Linked DNA regions of Homo sapiens: region 2 is linked to region 1. The links are contacts of gene promoters, found by promoter capture Hi-C in human tissues and cell types (Jung and others, 2019). All regions are on one chromosome and are shown on one strand. Each heading gives the region's core, a stretch centred on a gene start or on the middle of the fragment in contact. The rest is flanking DNA. Distances are from core to core; before and after follow the strand shown. Region 1 holds the start of SIVA1 (SIVA1 apoptosis inducing factor). Region 2 overlaps KLC1 (kinesin light chain 1).

Region 1 (2,702 bases), core at 59-2,558:
TGTCCTGAGAGGGCACACGATTGCGGTCCTGCCACAGTTCCCACGGCATCATTCCCCTTACCTCCCCATGGCCCAGAATAGCACTCGCTTTCACAGCCCTAGCACACTGGAGACACCGCACAGAGGAACCTCGGGAGGCAGAGTCTTTCCCTCATTCCCAAGGCACAAGCGGCACCAGGTAAATCACACACCCCGGGTCATCCTCTAACTGCTCTACAGGTGCAGACTTTGTGTCCCAATCACTAGGCAAGGTAAGCTCCACTTTTTACCTGCCCCAGGGTATTAATCACCCCAGTCAGAGTGATGATCAATAAGATCAACACGCCTGAAATCCACAGGAGAAAGCCAGAGAAGGCCTGGGAGCTCACTGCCCTCACATCCCACCCAGAACTGGACACTGCAGCCACACGGAGTCCTATTTCGCTCTCCTGCTGCCTGGCTTCTGCCTCGCCCTCTTCCTTCCCTTCCTCTGCCTGGCTAACTCCTACTCGCCCCCACAGGATTCCGCTCAGACTGTTCTTCCAAGAAGCCTTCCGTGCCATCCCTGCAGGTGCGCCTGCACAAACCTGTGCCTGCCCCGACCACCTGTGGCGACTCCTCCTGCTGGTCTCCCCAACTAGGCTGGGGAGCTCCCGGGAGACGGGGCACATCTGTCTTGCCTGCCTTTGGTCTCCCGAGAAAGCCGCCGTGCCTGGCAGGGCCGCGCGCTCCATGAATACCTCTTGGGACAGGAGGGGCACTCTTCGGGTTGACTCCATGCAGGACGCCCCGCTCCCCAACCTCTCCCAGGACATCCTGCACGGGACAGTCCTGAGAAAGCACCAGGCGGGTGCCGCTCACTGCAGGGCGGCGACTAACCGGGATCGTGGAAGAGGGCGCGGGGGCTAGGGGCAGGGACCCTTTTCTTTCAGGCTGTTGGACAGGGTGGGCGAACGCTGGGGTCCTCACATCCCCCTCACTGACCCCAGCCCTGGGCGTGGCCAGCTTGTGTCCCCGCGGCCTCCCAGCTTCCGGGAACGCGGGGCCAGAAAGCAGGGCCCTCCAGCCCCCCGCTCAGGCCTCAGAGGGGACGCTGAGGCCCGGCCCGTTCCAGGCCCCGACGCAGCGGACCCTCGGCAGCCCGCCCGACACTCACCGAAGACCTCCTGCGAGTAGCGCTCGGCGCACACGCCGCGGCTCAACTCCCTCTGGCTCACGCGGACCTTGAGCTGTAGCGGGGCCACGTCCGCGAAGGGGCAGCTCCGCTTGGGCATGGCCGCGGGGCCGGGAGCTACGCAGCTCCCCGGCCGCCAGCCCCTTACCAACGACGCCGTGACGTCACAGCTGCGCGCCCATCCGCGGGCGAGAGCGGGTTTGAGGAGAGGGAGCGACGCGGCGCGTCATAGGCTGCGGGCGAAGTGGGAGGCGGGACTCCTGCGCGGAGCGGCGCGGGATAGGCCGAGGGAGAGATCGGGGGTGGGACTCGTGCGTCGGTGTACTGGACTCGACGCCGCGGGAAAGGCCAGGGGCCAGGTTGAGGATCAGGGTGGGCGGGTCCGTGGGAGAGATTTGTGCGCGCGCCGCTCAGGATAGGCGGGAGGAGAGACTAGGGGCGGGGTTCCTATGCGGCGCGAAGCGACGAAGGGTGGGAGCCAGGTCGCGGCATTCGGCTGCGCGGGAAGAGCCAGGGGGCGGGGGCGAGGCCGAGGGTCAGGACGGTGCAACGAGGGCGGAGCTTGTGCATCGGGGGCGGGCCTCGTTTGAGGATCGGCGTGGGATAGGCCAGGGCGACGTCGGGGCGGGTCTAGTTTGAGGAGCGGCGCGGGATAGGCCAGGGCAAAGTCTGGGGCGGCTGGGTCGGTGGCGGGATTCCTGTCAGCTTTTGTTTGGTTCCTAAACGGTAGACACTGGTTATAGTTCCTCATTTACTTCTCCGAAGTTAAGAGGCAGCCCGCTTCTTCCTAGCTCTTTTTTCCCCTTTAGAGACAGGGTCTCGCTCTGTCACCCAGACTGAGTGCAGTGGCAGTCTCGGCTCACTGTAGCTTGCGCCTCCCGGGCTCAGGCGATCCTCCCTTCTCGGCCTCCCCGGTAGCTGGGACCGCAGGCGCGCGCCTCCGCGCCCCGCTTTTTGGTTTTGGGTAGGAACGGGGGTTTTTCTGTGTTGCCTCAGCTGGCTTAGCTCCTCACTGTGGCGGTCTCCGCCTTCCAGAAGTAAAGGCGTGTGGGGGCTGCGCTCTGAGGGCCGCGTGCGGCTGCCGAGCGCCCCCGGGCGGGGGTATGCGCCGCTGTGTGGAAAATGTTCTTGCACAGCGGGTTCGTCTGACTTGGTGTCCCCATGCCGCGAGGTGCACCCGCGTCGTCCCTTCTCCGGGGTTCTGCTCACCAGAGGCGGCTCTCCCCTGCCCCGGCGGGTACAGAACCGACCCGTCCTGTGGCGTGGGCTTCGCCCTGTGAGAGATGACAGCGTGCTGGCAGCCCTCGCTCGCTCTCGGCGCCCACTCTGGCCGCGCTCGAGGGGCCCTTCAGCCCGCCGCTGCACTGTGGGAGCCCCTCTCTGGGCTGGCCGCGGCCGGAGCCGGCTCCCTCAGCTTGCAGGGAGGTGTGGAGGGAGAGGTGCGGGCGGGAACCCGGGCTGCACGTGGCGCTTGCGGGTCAGCGTGAGTTCCGGGTGGGCGTGGGCTCGGCGGGCCCCGCAATCGGAGCCACCGGCCCCAGGCAGTGAG
Region 2 (2,915 bases), core at 188-2,687, 1.1 Mb after region 1:
CCAGGGCCATGGGTCTTGCCCTGAAGACCCTCCCTCAGGGACCACGCGCCCTGACCCTCATTGCCTCACCATATTATAAAACACTAAAACCGCTTAAGTTCTTCCCCACAGAGTTGGGGAACTAATTGTAAACAGAATACACGTCTACATATCAGCCCTGAGACAGCTGGCCCCGCTGCACACGCAGCCTGCTGGCCCCAGCAAGACACGGTCAGAGCTGGTAAGTGCTCTACAGCATTCAGAAATCTGACCACAGCGTACACACAGCTCACAAGTCAGTGCAAACAGAAGCTAATGACATCCTCCAAGAAAATTCCATACAGTTATGACAATGGAAAACCTGTTATACATTGTAACGATACATCATTAGCAATGTTTAATACATCTTACTATAAACACTGAATTTCTAAGTACATGATACTCCTAGCAGCTTAATCCAGAAAACAACGATGTGAATCCCTCCAATACTGTAAACACAAGACCAAGTGCTGCCCATGAGAGTGCCCCGTGCCACCCGCGGGCACCACCGGCCTCTGAGGACCCCTGAGCCACACACTGCTGCTGCTTCAGGGAAGCATCCATGTCACAGGACTTCCCCAGGGGCCTGATTTCTGCCACAGCTGCACCAACTACCCAGAGATATGCTGTCCGCCCACAGATCCAGACGCTCCCATGCCATGGTTGCTGGGGACGGGCGCTGCACACACGGCTGCTGTGGGGGGGGGCGGGGGGCGGGGGCGCAGTGATTATTTTGACAGCAACTCTGAAGAAACAGGTGCTGACTCTCGCGTGGGGTTCCTCTCACCAGAACGACCACACACAGGAGGAGGGATGCCTGGGCCCACCACTTCTCTCCTCTGAAGGGAAAAATTCAGACCGCCAGATGGGAAATGGCTGAAATCACCGCACTTCTATTGGGTGGAAGGGTTCAAACATCGGGGACTCAGGTACTCAGATTCCCTTGCCGCCTCCCTCTGAAACACGAACCTTCCTTTATGAGCTGGCTTCAGGGAGGCCCCCTGGCTTCTCTTACCCCAACACACAGTGCTCCCACAGCCACAGTGCTGCAGAGGCCACCTCGGCCCTAAAGTCCCATGGCTGGAAGCCACAGCAGGCTCCACAGAGGCCCCACACAACCTCGTCTGCACCCATCAGTCTGAAGAGGTTAAAATTCAACTCCATATTCAGCCCTATGTTTATTCCTTCTAAATGCCCTTTTTCCTTTCCAGATAACTGTCACTAAGGGAAACTGTCTGGGTTCCAAACTCTGCTCAGCATCCTCACAGGGAGAAGGCACCCCCACCACAAGGGAAGCTCCGGAGCCCTCCTCCCTGTCGCCTGTGCACAGACATAGCCCACTACGGGGGCAGCCACGGCACCTGTCAGGGGAAGCTGCTCTACACCCCCCTTTTTTTGGGGGGGGTTGGCTTCTCACAACCCATCAAATTATATATGTATATATATGTATGTATATATATATATATATATATACACACACACACATATATATATATATACACATGGTTTTTTTTGCTAGACACAGGGACTCGCTGTGTTGCCCAAGCTGTTCTTGAACTGGGCTCAAGTGATCCTCCCGCCTCAGCCTCCCAAAGTGCTAAGATTATAGGATTACTGGCATGAACCACCGCACCCAGCCATATATATATATATAATTTAACATTTTTTCTTTTAATCCCATCCACTATTACAGAACCTATGAAATTTTCTTCAACACCTCTATGTAGCATTTAGAATGTAAGCTCCTGATCCACCAGAATCTGCAAGAATGGAGTCAGGAGCCTCAGAAAAGGAGCCACGGCCACAGGCGAGCAGCTCGGGGACAACGCTGGCTCCACAGGGCAGCTCCTGGGCCAGGCACCCGCTGGCGACTACACGGAGCTTGTCTTGTGGAAACAAACGCGCTTTCACAAACACAGCAGTCCTGCGACATGAGGCGGGATGAAACTTTGAAAGGTATTTTAAAGTCTAGCCTTGTAACAAAACCTCAGGACACTCTGTCCCCAGCCTTCGTGCCCCACGGGGAGCTTCTAGAGGCTGAAGGTGACAAGTGTGAGCCTCTGCTGTGCCACCACCCACCCTGTTACATGACAGTGGCAAGCTGAGCTTTCACGGGATGGCTGGTGTTTCACAGACCGCCCCTCCATCCCGTAGCCTAGTTGGCTGGCATGGAGGTGGCGCTGCTGAGCGTCAGCCTTTGGAATCACTGATCACCTCGGCGTCTGTTTTGTATGCTCTTTACCTATGGACTAGTTTGTGGACGGCTAAGAAATACAGCCTCAGCATTGATTTGAAAAGGTTCCTGTCAGAGTCCACCGTGCTCCCTCATTCCATAAAGCTTAAGCTTTTAAAAAGTGAAACGCCATGTTAGCCAGGATGGTCTCGATCTCCTGACCTTGTGATCCGCCTGGCGGGTGCCTGTAGTCCCAGCTACTCGGGAGGCTGAGGCAGGAGAATGGCGTGAACCCAGGAGGTGGAGCTTGCAGTGGGCCGAGATTGGGCCACTGCGCTCCAGCCTGGGCAACAGAGTTAGACTCCGTCTCAAAAAAAAAAAAAAAAAAAGTGAAACACACGTCTCTATGGGCTTCGTGTGCAGGGGCGTCCGGGAGAACACAGCTCAAAAGGGGGCATGGGGCCCCAGGGCCACAGGCATGGGGACCTTGGAAAGAGAGACCCGGAAGATGCTCCAGCTGGGAAGGAATTCACTTCCCACTGACCAGTGTCCGCTAAGCTTCAGGCTTTACTGCCATAGATCACTAAATGCCTATCGTTCTGAAAGGGGTACTTTATGTTTCCAGATTCTTAATTTACAGCCTTATTACAATATTACAATTTAAAAGAGAGTCTGGTGTCATGGCAAAAAGGTGGCAGGCAGGAAATGCAACAGCATCCGTGAG

What was found. Contacts are between HindIII fragments. The study calls those that stand out against the background at their distance.
Region 2: a fragment that was not itself captured here is called in contact with the fragment with the promoter of SIVA1 in region 1 in 1 of the 25 tissues and cell types used here (dorsolateral prefrontal cortex).

What each region holds. Positions count from the first base shown.
Region 1 is chr14:104,751,753-104,754,454 of GRCh38, reverse strand. It overlaps SIVA1 (SIVA1 apoptosis inducing factor), which reads right to left and starts at 1,308. Exons shown (of 4, transcript NM_006427.4): 1 at 1,136-1,308. The coding sequence starts at 1,253. The region is part of intron 2 of LOC107987209 (a long non-coding RNA gene); the gene reads left to right. RefSeq lists enhancers at 1,213-1,282, 1,293-1,342, 988-1,489, 2,193-2,282 and a silencer at 1,443-1,812. The HindIII fragment of the contact is 10,762 bases long and covers 1-2,702 here.
Region 2 is chr14:103,693,916-103,696,830 of GRCh38, reverse strand. The region is part of intron 15 of KLC1 (kinesin light chain 1); the gene reads right to left. Among named protein-coding and RNA genes, the nearest start is that of XRCC3, 20 kb to the left of the region's middle. The HindIII fragment of the contact is 3,456 bases long and covers 1-2,915 here.